Linked DNA regions of Homo sapiens: region 2 is linked to region 1. Evidence: promoter capture Hi-C in 16 types of primary human blood cells and fetal thymus (Javierre and others, 2016). All regions are on one chromosome and are shown on one strand. Each heading gives the region's core, a stretch centred on a gene start or on the middle of the fragment in contact. The rest is flanking DNA. Distances are from core to core; before and after follow the strand shown. Region 1 holds the start of SLC28A1 (solute carrier family 28 member 1). Region 2 overlaps ZNF592 (zinc finger protein 592).

What was found. Contacts are between HindIII fragments. The CHiCAGO score rates a contact against its expected background, and 5 or more counts as called.
Region 2: a fragment that was not itself captured here is called in contact with the fragment with the promoter of SLC28A1 in region 1 in 3 of 17 cell types (M1 macrophages, M0 macrophages and M2 macrophages); the score reaches 6.3 in M1 macrophages.

Annotation. Positions count from the first base shown.
Region 1 is chr15:84,881,904-84,889,835 of GRCh38, forward strand. It overlaps SLC28A1 (solute carrier family 28 member 1), which reads left to right and starts at 2,759. Exons shown (of 19, transcript NM_004213.5): 1 at 2,759-2,848; 2 at 4,769-4,884; 3 at 5,842-5,953; 4 at 6,869-6,957. The coding sequence starts at 5,858. RefSeq lists enhancers at 1,838-2,338, 2,339-2,839, 7,774-7,932. The HindIII fragment of the contact is 20,311 bases long and covers 1-7,932 here.
Region 2 is chr15:84,767,641-84,775,572 of GRCh38, forward strand. All of the region lies in intron 2 of ZNF592 (zinc finger protein 592), which reads left to right. Among named protein-coding and RNA genes, the nearest start is that of ZNF592, 23 kb to the left of the region's middle. RefSeq lists an enhancer at 6,331-6,410. The HindIII fragment of the contact is 2,123 bases long and covers 3,048-5,170 here.

The DNA.
Region 1 (7,932 bases), core at 1,509-4,008:
CTTTGGTAGATTTGTTTTCCTGGCTCCTGCCAGGAGGCCTTAAGTCCTCTTCATGATTACTCCTGTAAAAATATCTGGCTTCGCCCTAAGTCTCAGTGAGGGCCACATCAGACCACTTCTATGACAGGGGGAGAAGATGGAACAATCAAGGAATTATTTTTGTCTGTATAGCGAATCGGCTTATCAACTGTGACTTGATCAATAAGGCAATGGAGATCCAAATTAATAGTCTCCACAGCCCCTGCCAATAGCTGGAGGAAGTGTACTTTAGAAGGAAGATATAGCCTTTAGTATAAAACCTATAATAGACAGGGACATCACCCCTGAACCCAATAGCATAACATGAATTAAGACCCTTGGTTTGCAGAACATCTTGATCTGGATCAAACTGAAAAGGAACTATCTCAATTTCTCACTATATGAAAAGCTGATATGAGGCTGGGCACAGTGGCTCACACTTGTAATCCCAGCACTTTGGGAGACCGGGGCAGGAGGATCACTTGAGCCCAGGAGTTCTAGACCTGGGCAACATGGTAAGACCCTGTCTCTACAAAATAGGTAAATAAATAAATATTAGAACAACCAGGATGAAATTTTTTAAAAAAGAAAAAAAAATTAGCTGGCGTATGGTGCACATCTGTAGTCCCAACTACTCTGGAGGCTGAGGTGGGAGGATTGGTGGGAGGTCGAGGCTGTAGTGAGCTGAGATTGCGCCACTGCACGCCAGCCAGGGAGACAGAGTGAGACCCTGTCTCAAAAAAATAAATGAATAAATAAAATGCTAATATGAGCTGGAGAGGCAAGAGGAATAGAAGGTAAAAAGAACAACAAGGGAAATACACTTTTTAAGTACAATCAATTAAATATTAAATATTTGGGAACAGTGAGCTCTGAACTGCTTGGGTAAAATTCGCCCTGCCTGGTGGCCTTAAGCACTCCTGCAGGTGGGACCCGGCATCCTAATTCTACCAGGCCTCTTGTTGCTGCCGTAGATGAGCCCCAGACTCGGCCTTCCATTTTGTATTGGATGATGACCACATGTGCCCAGATGTTCTCAGTGAGTAGAGTGGGTCAAGGAGTAAACTATATCGGAAACCGTTGGATAATCATGCCAAGCAGGCTGGGGGCTTCCAGCCTTTGGGGTACTGGAATGCTTTCTTCCCCTGGGACCAGCTGAACTAGCTCTGTAGTTGCCGGGAGAGCAGTGTGCTCTAACACTTGGGCTAGTCCGTTCCCACAGGAAAACTAGAAGAGTCACAAGCAAAGAGTATAAAAGCCCAAGATATTTCTTTAGTCTTTGTATTTAGCTCTATGTCATCAATTTTTTTTTTTACAGGGTCTCACTCCTGTCGCCCAGGCTGGAGTGCAGTGGTGTGATTATGGTTCACTGCAGCCTTGACTTCCCAGGCTTAAATGATCCTCCCACCTCAGCCTCCTGAGTAGCTGGGATTACAGGTGCACGCCACCACACCTGTCTAATTTTTTCTATTTTTTGTAGAGACAGGGTCTCCCTGTGTTGCCCAGGCTGGTCTTGAAGTCCTGGGCTCAAGCGATCTACCTGCCTTGGCCTCCCAAAGTGCTAGGATTATTGCTACTTTCCAATATTTCTACTACAGACTACGGGAAGTCCATTTTTCAATGCCAAATGCAGAAGAAAAAGTTGTATGGATGCCCTTTCTGCCAATCATCCCAGGTTTAGGAGAGAAGAATGATGAGGTCATGTTCATGGAACTTGACGAGTGATAAGCCTCTTTATTTGTCCAGTGCTTGGATACACGAATCGATGCAATGAAAGAGACCTCGCCTGTGAAGAGCTAAGAAATGAGTGTGGGCAGAATCATGAGAAGAAAATAAAGAGATTGCTGAGCAACTCTTCTGACAGTTCTTGTGCTTTTTGAATGTTTCACTCACTACTTATAAAATAACCTATTATGTCAGAGCCTGGCGAGAAGGGATCCTCTCCAACTCTTTGACTAATAATTCCCTAAAACAGGAGGTGGCCTGCAGAAGAACTAAAACCAGAAAAGTTAGGTGGTTGCCTCTGAGGAATGGGATAGAGTTGGAGGGGTGGAGCAGCCCCTTTACTGTCAACCCTTCTGAGCTCTGCTGGATGGTGAGGGAAATTATCTATGTATATTTATGTGGTCCTCTCCCCACTCTGCCCTGGCCTGGCTCAGCTCTAGGTCTCACTCAGCGGGCGTCTGCGGGTGTGCCGGGCCTCAGAGGCTGTCTCCTTAGGAAACAGGCCACCAAGAAGCCCAAGGACATGCTGAGGTCCCACAGCTGGAGGGGCACAGCCGGGACACCTGAGGTCCTCCAGCTGTTGGTCTTTCCCTGGGGTCTCCACCCCAATCTATCCAGCCTCCCAACTCCCCAGCCTGTGGCTTTTTGCCACATTCCACCTGAAAAGACCGCTTGGCTTCTGGGGTCTGGGATCCCTGCTGGCCATGCCTCCTTGAGAGGAGGAGCAGGGGAGAAGCCCGGAGTCTCCTGGCCTGGAGGAGGGGAGCAGTGTGTCAGGACACCCCGGATGGGACCTGTGACAGCAATGACACCTGCCAGCCTGATGCCGCTTGACTCCCTGCCAGGTACTTCCTAAGCAGGAGCACGCTGACTCCTCATGTGCTCTATTACCCACCACCAGATGAGGCAGCAAGTTAACTTTGGCAGTCAGGAGTGGAGACCTTTGGGCTCCAAGCTCAAGGTCCACCCCAAGACACACAGCCCATTAAATCCTTGTTGTAGAGATTAGGGCCCACAACGATGTGAAGGTTATAAGCTGCACTGCATGGTTGCTGCTGGATGTGTTGTGTTCCTGGCTTCCCTCTGGATGCTGACAGAAACAAGGGTGAGAGAAAAGGACAGTAGGAGAGGAGGGAAGGCGGGACTGAAGAAAGGAGGGGAAGGGGGTAGCACAGGGCAAAGTGGAAAAGCAGGTAGCGTCCTTTTTTTCTTCACTAGGGCTTGGCGAAGACCCCTTCGAGGACAGCTCCAGGCCCATCCCTGTGGTGGCCACCCATGGAGACAGTAGTGCTGCTCAGAGGCATTTAGTTTTTGTTTCTTTTCTGTTTTTGAGGTAGAGTCTCGCTCTGTTGCCGAGGCTGGAGTGCAGTGGTGTGATCTCTGCTCACTGCAGCCTCCACCTCTCGGGTTCAAGCAATTCTCCTGCCTCAGCCTCCCGAGTAGCTGGGACTACAGGCACCTGCCACCATGCCTGGCTAATTTTTGTATTTTTAGTAGAGACGGGGTTTCACCATGTTGGCCAGGCTGGTCTCGAACTCCTGGCTTCAAGTGATCTGCCCACCTTGGCCTCCCAAAGTGCTGGGAGTGCAGGCATGAGCCACCGTGCCCCCCCTCTTTTTTTTTTTTAAAGGTAGAGTCTTGCTCTGTGGCTAGTTTTCAATCAAGGTAACACATGGGCTCTCAACAGTGTGCGGAACTCTGCTAGAAAAATCAAATTATGAGAACACTGTTACTGTGTGATCCCCTATTGGAAAATGAATAACATAAAATAACATACATTTAGGAAAAAAAAAGTGGAGAAAAGGCCAGGCGCGGTGGCTCATGCCTGTAATCCCAGCACTTTGGGAGGCCAAGGTGGGTGGACCACCTGAGGTTGGAAGTTCGAGACCAGCCTGACCAACATGGAGAAACCCCATCTCTACTAAAAATACAAAATTAGCCAGGTGTGGTGGCGCATGCCTGTAATCACAGCTACTTGGGAGGCTGAGGCAGGAGAATCGCTTGAACTTGGGAGGCGGAGGTTGCAGTGAACCGAGCTCGCACCACTGTACTCCAGCCTGGGCAACAAGAGTGAAACTCCGTCTCAAAAAAAAAAAAAAAAAGGAGGAAAATGCCACACAAACTCAATAGTGGTCATCCCTGAGGGCTCAGATTCCGGGGACTTTAACTTCCCTCATTCTGTATATTTCTCTAATGTTTAAATGTTTAATGATACACTTGTAATGCTTTGGTAATTCAAATGACAGATGAAGAAAAAATGTTTTCAAAAAGAGGGGGTGTCCATCCACCATCCTCTCCAAACTTCCAAAACAACCAGGAGGTGCCGGTACTAGCAAGTATTTATGCATCATAGAGGATTTTGTCCTGAGCGCGTACCATTAATTATTAAAGAGATGTTGTGAATCCCGTCAGATGAGTTTAATGTTTAGTGTGAGGACTGGAAAACTAAAGCATTCAGCCCTTCGCTTTGCACACCGTTGGCTTAGGTATTCATTTAACAAAGATGAAATGAAGGGGAAATGGTGTGATTTGGTTTTGTTTTCTTGACAGACCTGAAACACTTTTACTATTTCTCACAGCTACACTGCTTTCCTCATTTTCCAGCACAGGAAAATTGGTTGCTGTTATAATAAATCCCCATCTAGTGAGAAAGGGAGATAGAGAAAGATGCAAAATGAAAGATAAAATGCAAAAAGCTAACAGCCTGGCTGGGGAAAGGAGGCCATGGGAAGGAAGGAGGGGGAGGGAAATAATCACATAGGTGGCTTCCTGGAAGAAGCGGCCCTAATAGGCCTGGAAGAGGTCAGTTTGGGAACTGGGGAGAGGGCAGAGGAGGGCATCTCTGATGGAGAAGCAGCAGCCAGTGGGCAGGAGCTGCAGGGAGCCAGGTTGCAAGTGGGCCTGCTTCCTGTATCCCTGAGACCGTGTTGGGGTCCCCACCCTGGCTGTGGCCCTGGCCTCTGGGGAGGCGCTGGGCAGAACTGGGTGGCAGGCCCAACCTACTCCGACCCTGGACTCTGCCCAGGAATTTCTGCTGAAGTGACAAGGCAAGCCAGAGCCAAAGCAGGTTGGACCCAGCTTGTCCCCACAGAGACGTGTGCTTCCCTCTCTCTCTGAGAGCGACCTGTTAACCGCAAATACGTGAGTAGAAACAGGGCCCCGCTTCTGTGTGCGCTGCTGTGCGTCTGTGTGTGAGCCAGGGCATTCCCAGGCTCTGCCTGTGTGTGTGCACGCACATGCACGGGTCTCTGAGTATGTCAGCCTAACTGGGCTGGCATTTGGATGGAGTAGGGCACCACCCAAGGGGAGAAAAAGGAGCGGGAACAAGAGAAGGGAGAGAGGAGGTGTTAGTTACCACTCTTATTTACAGATGAGCTTAAGCCTACGAACTGAGCTTCAGCAAAAAATGAACTATATTGATTCTTGCAATGGAAAGTCCAGGAGTAGGATTGGTTTCAGGTATAGTTGGATCCAGGAACTGGAATGATGCCTTTAAGGATGTTGCACCTCCATCTTTCAGAGATGGAAAAGTAGAATACACTGAAGATCTCACTTAATGGTAATAGTTTTAACCAGTTGTAGGGAGTGATGAAAGCTAGGTCCTCTCTTCAGAAAAATGCCTGTATCAGATACATATGCAGGCTGTATATAATTCTTTACTTTCCTTCCCTATGAAGTGGGCAGAATTTGCTGTTTCTGCCTGGAACTCCCAGAGTTCACAAGGACTTGCCTCTTACAGGTTCAGATGTGGGTGCAGGCTGGGGTGGTGGCGCACGCCTGTAATCCCAACACTTTGGGAGGCTGAGGTGGGAGGACTGCTTGAGCCCAGGAGTTGGAGGCCAGCCTGTGCAACACAGGGAGACCCAGTCTCTAGAAAAAGGAAGAGGTACCTCCTCCATGTGCTGAGAAGTCAAGGTTGCAGTCCCAGTCACAAGGAGGGGTGAGCTCTGGGATGGCATAGGTGGCCCCCAGGCAGGGCTCTGGCTGTGCCAGGCATCTGCTCCCCCCACTCAGTCCTCTCCCCTTTCCCCGGGCCCCTAAACTGGGCCCTGCCCGGCCTCCCTTTCAGCGTTGGGCGCTCCCTGATTTGTCTTTCAGCTGGAAGGTCTGGGACATGGAGAACGACCCCTCGAGACGAAGAGAGTCCATCTCTCTCACACCTGTGGCCAAGGGTCTGGAGAACATGGGGGCTGATTTCTTGGAAAGCCTGGTCTGTACCCTTCCCCATCAGTCATCCTGACCCCTCAGCCTCTTTGGCTTGAGCCCGGCTGCCGAGGTGATGAGGCTTTTGCTCACCACCTTCCCTCATACCCCATTCTTCTGCCCCCTTCTCACCTCTTTGCTGGCACAGTTATGAACCTCCCAGTGTGTTGGCCTCCTCAACACAAGGCAGACCCCTTTATTTCACTCATTAAACATTGACTGAGCACGTACTGTGTGCACTATAGTCTGAAAGTCCTAGTCTGAAAGGGCAGGGCAGGCCCCAGTGAGGAAGTGACATTAGAGCTGTGACCTACAGAATGAGAATCAAAACCAGATGATGGGGGAGGGGGGTCTCTAAGGAAATCTCAGCCTTCAAGGAGCCTTGTCCTTGCTTTCAAGTGGCCAGGTCAGGTCGAGGCACACCACCCAGAACTCGGAGCCTGGTAGGATACCCTGCACGCTCCCAGGCTCCTCTGACAAAGCCCCCTCCCCTTCACTGCCCTTGTCTCTTGGGGTGCTCCTTTCACGCTGTCATATGCAAGAATACCCACCCCCCACCCAAAACAGCTCCACAGACGGTGGGTGCATGGTGCCCTGAGGTCATGTGATGAGGTAGCCCTGCCTGGGGCCTCCCTTACAGGCCTCCCCTCGGCCCCTCTCAGTCACAGCTGGGCCGCAGGTGTCTGTCCCTGCGCAGACCATGAGCTCGCTGAGGGCAAGATGTGTCTGGCAGAGCCCTGCACACAGTAGGTGCTCAGTGCCTGCCTTGCAGAATCCAGTTTAGTAGCCTTCTAATTCCTCCCTGTGCCCCAGCCCAGTCCCCTCCTCAGCCAGGGTCTCACCGTGGCCCCCGACCCCCAGCTGTAAGTTCCTGGGGGTGGGTAAGGGGCAGGCCGACCTGACGGCTCCCTGCGGGCTGTAGGAGGAAGGCCAGCTCCCTAGGAGTGACTTGAGCCCCGCAGAGATCAGGAGCAGCTGGAGCGAGGCGGCGCCGAAGCCCTTCTCCAGATGGTAGGTGATCTCTGGAGAGACAAGGGCGGGCCTGGGGTGGAGGCTGCTTGGGAACAGGATGGGGAGCCGGGCCTCCTGGCGGATGGGAGTTGGGGGGACGTGAACCTTTGTTGAAGGGAGGAATAAAGGCGCTTTAGCCAACACGCACAGGCACATGAGCCTCGAGGGTGAGCCAAGTCACAGGCTCCCCACCTGCTTTTGAACAGCTGAAACGAAATCCCATCAGGAACCCCAGTATGTACCGTGGGGCCTGCCCTGAACCAGCCAGGCCTCCCTCTCAACCTCCCCCTTCTGCCTTCTACCCCCATTCAGTCTCTGGGGTACCTCGGGGAGTCTGAAGACTCCGGTTAAAAATCCTGAACTGGGCAAGGTCCCTGATTTTACACAGGGAGGTAGAAGCCCAGAGAGGGGAAGGGACCAGCCAGGATGGCATAGGCAGCGAGTGTCTGAGGTGAGCATAGAACTCCACCTCCTGATGCCTGGGCCATCTGGGTCCTTGTTGGCCAGATCCGGAGCTGAGGACACCGTGATGGGCAGGGGGTGGTGGTGGGGGAGGGATTCCGTCTCTCTGCCTGGGCAGGGGATATGGGAAGAATGCCTCCTCCACCCTCTCAGGAGGAGGTGGGAGGTGGGGACTGAGAGGAGGTGAGGCTCCTTAAAATGGCAGCTGGTGGGTGGATTCCAATTAGCATTGAGTGGGCGTCTACTCAATGTGTGTCCCATGGGCAGGTGGATGAACGACAGGGGAGGGGAGGCAGCCATCCATGTTTTTCTTTTCTTTTCTTTTCCTTTTTCTTTTCTTTCCTTCCTTCCTTCTTTCCTTCCTTCCTTCTTTCCTTCCTTCCTTCTTTCCTTCCTTCCTTCCTTCCTTCCTTCCTTCCTTCCTTCCTTCCTTCCTTCCTTCCTTTTCTTTCTCTCTTCCTTCCTTCTTTCTTTTCTTTTTTCTTTCTTTCTCTTTCTTTCTTGCTTGCTTGC
Region 2 (7,932 bases), core at 2,859-5,358, 110 kb before region 1:
TGTGTAAACTGTGCTTGCTGCCTATGCCTAGTTTCTGCTTGTCCCAGTCAGTTTTATTGTCTTGTATAATCCCAGCTCCCTCCAGTTCTGTCTTTTTCTATCTTTTAAAAAATATAGCAGCTTTATTGAGATATAATTCACATGCCATACAATTTACCCATTTAAAGTGCACAATTCAATGGTATTTCAGTTTGTTCACGGACTTGTATTTTCTTTTTTTTTATTTGTTTCTTTTCTTTTCTTTTCTTTTTTTTGAGACAGGGTTTTGCTGTGTCACCTACCCTGGAGTGCAATGGTGCAATCACAGCTCACTGCAGCCTCAACCTCCCAGGCTCAAGCAATCCTCCCACCTCAGCCTTTTGAGTAGCTGGGACTACAGACATGTGCCACCACGCCCAGCTAATTTTAATTTTAATTTTAATTTTTTTTTTTTGTAGAGATGGGGTTTTGCCATGTTGCCCAGCTGGTATTGAACTCCTGGCCTCAAATGATCTACCTGCCTTGGCCTCACGCTTGGGATTACAGCCACGAGCCATAGTGCCTAGCCAGTATCTTCTTATCTTCTTTCCTTTTCTTTCTTTCTTTCTTTCTTTTTTTTTTTTTTTTTTTTGAGACAGTTGTGCTCTGTCGCCCAGGCTGGAGACTGGAGTGCAGTGGCGCGATCCCAGCTCACTACAACCTCTGCCTCCTGGGTTCAAGCGATTCTCCTGCCTTAGCCTCCCAAGTAGCTAGGATTACAGGTGTGCACCACCACACCTGGCTAATTTTTGTATTTTTAGTAGAGACAAGGTTTCATCATGTGGACCAGGCTGGTCTTGAACTCCTGACCTCAAGTCATCCACCTGTCTCAGCTTCCCAAAGTGCTGGGATTACAGGCATGAGCCACCGTGCCCAGCCTTTTGTGTCTTTTTTTCTTAAGACTCATTCCCACCCTGTACCTACCTCTTCCCTATGGTTCTCAGAGCTAGCCTTTTCTTTCCTCTGGTGTCACACTGATCCCATCCTCAAAACAAATGACCTTATGGGACATCGGCCAATAGGCACCCCCCACTGATAAAATATTTAATTTAATCAGCCATTACAGGGATCCAGGATTCATAGACAAGGGTACTTTAGGTAGACCCCTTCCCACTGGCGAGGTCCCATAACCACTGAAGGTCTCTCTAAAATTTTAAAAAGTGAAACAAAAATTTGCATATTTGCAAAATGTTTGATTCATAATAAGCCCACTTGGGAATCTGTGATTATCTTGAACAATCTTAATTCTGGACAAATGAGCTTGTCAAATTGTTCTTCCTCCTTTCTTTTATTTTTTTTTGAGACATGGTGTCCATCTGTTGCCCAGACTGGAGTGCAATAGCACGATCGTGGCTCACTGCAACCTCCACTTCCTGAGTTCAAGCAATTCTCCTGCCTCAGCCTCCTGAGTAGCTGGGATTACAGGTGTCCACCACCATGCCTGGCTAATTTTTGTATTTTTAGTAGAGACAGGGTTTCACCATGTTGGTGAGGCTGGTCTTGAACTCCTGACCTCAGGTGATCAGCCCACCTCTGCCTCCCAAAGTGCTGGAATTATAGGCATGAGCCACTGTGCCTGGCCTGTTCCTTCTTTCTAATGGTGGATTACCTTCCTGTAAACACACTGGAATTTACAGAAAGACAAGAAGGTAATGAACAATTACATAATATATGCTAGGTGGTGATAAGTGCTGGGAAGAAAATAAAGCAGTGTAAAGGGATAAAGATTGATGGTTGGGTTGGGGATTGGTGTCTCATGTAGAACGGTCATGGAAGGCTCCTGACAAAGTGACATTGGATTAAAGGCCTGAAGAAGTGAGGAAGTGAGCCCACCGAGATCTGGTGGGAGAATGTTTCAAGCAGAGGGAGTGGTGACTGCAGAGGCTCAGAATGGAGCATGACCAGCATGCCTGAGGAACGTAAGGAGGCCTTTGTGTGCCTGGACAGACTGGGTGAGAGAGAGGCATAGGAGATGGGGGCAGTGAGATCATCCCGGCTGTGGAGGCTGTGGGAAAGATGGGATTTCACTCTGAGGGAGATGGGATGGTGTTGAAGGGTTTTGAAGAGAGTAGGGACATGATGTGATGTGTGCTTTAAGATTTTTAAATTATCTTATTATTTTTTGAGATGGGGTCTCACTGTGTTGCCTAGGCTGGAGTGCAGTGGCTATCCTCAGGTGCATTCCTGGCTCACTGCAGCCTCAAATTCCTGGGCTCAAGTGATCCTCCTACCTCAGCCTCCTGAGTAGCTGGTACTACAGGCATGGGCCACTGTGCCCAGTGGCAACGTATGTTTCAAAAGCAATACTCTGGCTGCTGTGTTGGGAATGACTAGTAGAGGCAAGGGTGGAAGCAAGAAGATCAGTTGGCAGGCTTTTGTGGGAACACAGGAGAGAGATGATGGTAGAGGTGGTGAGAAATGGCTGGACTTGAATATATTTTGAAGGTTGAGTTGACAGGATGTGCTTGTGGATTGGATGAAGGGTGTGAAAGAAAGAGAGGTTTAGGCCTAAGCAGCTGGAAGAATGGCATTGTCATTTACTGAAATGCGGAAGGCTGTAGGAGGAAATCAAGAGCTAGATTTTAGACATAGTAGATCTGAGGTGCCTATTAGATATCCAAGTAGAGATCCAAATCTAGAAATAACAATAATTTAGTGAATGTCTACTGAGGGGCTTATAAAATAGCAGGAAAGAGAACACTTTACTGAAATGTTCAGTAAACTACAGTACAGGTAGAAAATTATGATGTGAGGAAGAATAAATAAAGCAAAAGGGAGCAAAAGGGAGAGTGAGGTGACTTCTGTAGGAATTCTGTGCCCTTGATGAGCCTCAGTGGTGCCCACAGATGTTTCCAGTGGATTATGTATGTGTAGGTGCTCAAGAGCAGGGTCTGGGCCTTCAGCTTTGTGCCCTCAGTGCCAGTCATAAGTCTTAGCATTTGGTGACTGTTCCCCTCTCTGAGCCTCAGTTCTCCATGTATAAAAAATGAAGAGTTTGGACTAGACCGGTGCAGTGGAATCACCTGGGAAGCTTTAAAAAAAAAACAACCAAAAAGCAGGAATCCATCCTAGACATATTGAATCAGAATTTTCATGGTGGAGCCTGTGTATCTGTATTTTTAAGTCATTCCCCATGTTACTCTTTTGCAGTCTGTCCAGCAGCGGCCTTCAGACAGGCATTTGGAAGCCCCTGGACCAGATAGTTTCCAAGGGCCCCTTCAGCTTTAACATCTTATGAGTCTTGTTAGAATGTTCGCAGTATAATTCTGTCCTTGAAATCTTTGGTTGGCGTGGAAAAGGCATGGCAGGGGGAGAGGAGAAGCTGCCTTTGGGTGAAGGACACCTTGCACAGGGCAAGCAGGGGCAGGTACATCAGCCAGGGGGTTGAAGAGACATCCAGGAATGGCTCCGGGAGCAGTGGGAGCAGTGACAACTCACCTGCCATGGGGAGCCAGGTGTGTTAGGTCACGGAAATAGAGGGGAAAGACATGACCCCCACACAGGAGAGGCTCACATACTGATGGGAAGGACTGATGAGAAAACGAATGATTCCAGCCCCCTGTGAGAAGTGCTGCCATAGAGGAAGAGAGGCTTGGGTGTCAGGAGAAAAGTGGAGCAGGAGGAGGGCAGAGCACTGGAGTTGCAGTACTCAGAGAAGGCATCAGAAGGGGACCCTGGAGCTGAAACTTGGGGATGAGGAGTTCTTAGGTTTGTGTTTGAGGCCCTGGTGGGTTGGGGTATCAGGTATTCTCTAGTCAGGGGGATAGCTCAAACCCTGGCAGAGAGGCACGAGAAAGTGTGAGAGAACCACCACTGGGGTCAGAATGAAAGGTATCCTGGCAAGTGGCTGGAGAGGGGCAGAGACCACATTGGAATGCATCCTCCATGAGAGGCTGAAGGGACATCTTGGTGATCAGATGTATGTTTCACAGCAAATTTTATGGCAACATGTGCATTAGAGGGGCTACACTAAGTGGAGGAAAGACAAGTAAAAAACGTTTTTTTTGTTTGTTTGTTTTTGCCTGAGCCCACTGGGGCAGCTGTTTCTTACGTACTGCTGAGAATCTCTTTGGGCCATTTTTTTTGCCACTGGCTTGAATAGCAGGTGCCTCATGAAATGAAACATTGGCCATTGACTGATTCAGAACATCTGAGACTTGGAGTGATATAGACCTATAAGCAGGCCTCAGATGTGTATTCAAGAGGCCAGTGAGATATATACGCCATGGAGTCTGCTTGTCCACTTTAGCAGTTAATTTTTATGTAGAAATCCCTAAGATCTAGATTAATTTGCCCAGCTGTTGCAGCCTAACCTGTTCAAGGACTCAGAGATCCTTAAAGTTAGTTTAATTTTACATACTAAACCAATGCCTACCTAAGGTCTTCACACAAGTAACTATTGATACCATAGGAGTGAAAGCCAATTCCATGTGGTCACAATTCCTTATTCTTTTAGCTATACCATTCCCAATCTGGGGCTTTGTTCTGGGTCCAGGAACATGAGCCTCTTTTTTCTGTTTCCTCTGATCCTACTGAAGTTTCACTAAGTTCCCTTCACTACCGTAACCCATGGAAGTGGTGTCTCGATGATTAATGTTCCTGCTTGAGTTCAGGCGAGGCTCCTGCACGTCTTGGGAGCAGCAGCTTACTCTTGAACTTGTTTGCTCATTCTGACTTTCCCCTTGTCTGCTTCCATTCCTGGTATAACATAGGGAGACCCTGTCTCTACAAAAATAAAAAAACTGGCCAGGCGTGGTGGTGCACACCTGCATCCCCAGCTACTCAGGAGCCTGAGGCGAGAGGATCACTTGAGTCCAGGAGGTGGAGGCTGAAGTGAGCTATGATCACACCATTGCACTCCAGCCTGGGCAACAGAGTGAGACCCTGTCTCAAAGCAAACAAATAAATAAATAAAAACTCTTAATTACAAGCAATAATGCAACACAAATGATATCAGTATTTAAGCCATAGTCAGTCATGTGGGGGAGCAGGGTTGAGAGTTCACCCACAGGTTGTGAAACATCCATCCTTCCTTCCTTCCAGTCCTAATACAACGAACAATGGCAAATTCAAGAAAACTTTTTTTTTTCTCTCTCACAGTTCAGCGTTCCTTAAATCATGCTGCCTTTAACTTTCATTTTATAAATATGCAAGCTTTTATTTGCTTCCTTGTCTTATTAAACAGAATATATTAACTAGAGATCAAATTTTTCTTAATGCTTTTTGGAGTCCCTCTGCCTCCTTAATGTCCTGTTACTGAACTTTTATTAATCTACTATTACTGAACTTAGCATTGCTGAGGTAACAGATGGCAAAGTTTAATGTTATTTGAAATTTGAAGGCTTTATGCAGGGGGGAAAACCTCATGGGTTCAGTGTTAAGTCCTTGTTCTTAGTTCCTCAGAGCCTTTTTTATTTTTAGATTTGAATATGTGAATGTTACTACATTTATATATTTTTTTAAAGTGATAATTCAGGATATTTTCTGACAATAGATAAAATCATCTTTTGTCTACATCTTTTATTTCTTTTTTTAACAAGTCACCACCCACCAGGGTTTTTTTTTTTTTTTGAGACGGAGTCTCGCTCTGTCGGCCAGGCTGGAGTGCAGTGATGCGATCTCGGCTCACTGCAAGCTCCGCCTCCCGGGTTCACGCCATTCTCCTGCCTCAGCCTCCCGAGTAGCTGGGATTACAGGTGCCCGCCACCAAGCCCAGCTAATTTTTTGTATTTTTAGTAGAGACGGGGTTTCACCATTTTAGCCAGGATGGTCTCGATCTCCTGACCTCGTGATCCACCCGCCTCGACCTCCCAAAGTGCTGGGATTACAGGCGTGAGCCATCGCGCCCGGCCCCCACCAGGGGTTTAATTCTCTTAGTAAAAAGGCCAGTTCAGAGAGGGGCCCTGTCTTGTCCCCATCCAGGGGAGAAGATCTACAGAGCACCCTGGGAATGTCCAAGCCCAGTACATATTTTATTTCAAACTTCAAAATACTGCCCTCTTCTCTCTAGTATTATGAGGTTTGATGAACAAACCTATAAGTTAGTTATACTTTCCCCTTTCTCCTAAATTTTCATCTCTCCAGAAAAAAAAAAATAGAGCTCTAATTTTTAGGGTCTCATTAGAAAGCCCTTTCATTTACTTTACAACTTCAATCTCTGAGATTTCGCAGGACCTCTTCCAACTCTGGTATGTTTTTCTTGAGGTATGGGGAACCAAAACTGCACAGCACACGTAGCTATGGACACACAGTGGTTTTGAATAAGGGCAGGATCACAAGTTCTGCTTTGCTTAGAGTGTTCTTTCTGATAATGCCTAGCATTTTCTGGGCCTTTTGTGATGAAACATGCGATGTGGTATCTTAAGGGAACAGTCTAAGCTGATTGAACAGTGTAGCTTAAAATCCATTATTCTAAAAGTATAATTGGTATTGCTTTTCCCTGAATGTTCCTTCACATTTGCCTTCACTGATGGTCACTTGCTATAATTTTGCCTATTTATGCAGCCTCATGAGAACCTGTCTTTTAATTTTGCTTTTTGATTAGGAACAGCTTTAAGGCCATTTGCAAATGAAGGTTTTACTTTATTGCTTCTACAAATACTTATTGAGTACCTAATGGGGAATCCAGTGATGAATGAAATAGATAAGCCTCTTCCTTCATGAAACTTACATCCTAACATTCTTCTGCTAGATTATTGGGTCCCAAAGCATTTATATAATTATGAAGACTTCCTTTTTAAAATAAATTTTTCATGAGTCCTTATTCAGCAGTGGTGTGTCTAATGGCTGGTCCTTGAGCACACATATCTGGAGGTGAAGCTGGGTTCCCTTATGGGTTGGAAACCACCATTCTAGGTAATTTATGAAAGCATAAATCACTAGTCCAAAATTAGTCAATGGGTTAAAAGCTCTGTTTATATTTCCCCATGAATGGGAATTACATGAAGACATATATACGGATGCACACAGACAACATACATTCACCCAAGTTTTATGGAAGTCAGTTGTTATTTTGTTCTGTTTTTTTTTTGGTGGGATCTTAGCATTTAAAGTCTGTAGAAATTCTGTCTACTAGTCTACTAGTTCTGCCATAATTATATATAATCATACTGGTTTTTGTTTGTTTGTTTGTTTGTTTTTTGAGACAGAGTCCACTCTGTTGCTCAGGCTGGAGTACAATGGCGTGATCTCGGCTCACTGTAACCTCTGCCTCCCAGGTTCAAGCAATTCTCCTGCCCCAGCCTCCCAAGTAGCTGAGATTACAGGTGTACACCACCACGCCCAGCTAGTTTTTGTATTTTTAGTAGGGACAGGGTTTTGCCATGTTGGTCAGGCTGGTCTTGAACTCCTGACCTCAGGTGATCCACCTGCCTTGGCCTCCCAAAGTGCTGAGATTACAGGCATGAGTCCCAGCACCTGGCCACTGTTTTCTTTTTCTTTTTCTTTTTTTTTCCTAAGATAGGGTCTCGCTCTGTCACCTGGGCTGGAGTACAGTGGTGCAATCTTGGCTCACTGCAACCTCTGCCTCCCTGGTTCAAGCGATTCTCCGGTCTCAGCCTCCTAAGTAGCTGAGACTACAGACATCTGCCACCATACCTGGCTAATTTTTGTATTTTTGGTAGAGACAGGGTTTCACTGTGTTGGCCAGGCTAGTGTCGAACTCCTGACCTCAAGCGATCTGCCCACCTCAACCTCCCAAAGTACTGGGATTACAGTCATGAGCCACCGCATCCAGCTAATCATACTGGGTGTTGTTGTTGTTGTTGTTGTTGTTGTTCTGTTTTGTTTTTTTGAGACAGAGTCTCGCTCTGTTGCCCAGGCTGGAGTGCAGTGACGCGATCTCAGCTCACTGCAACCTCCACCTCCCGAATTCAAGAGATTCTCCTGCGTCGGCCTCCTGAGTAGCTGGGTTTG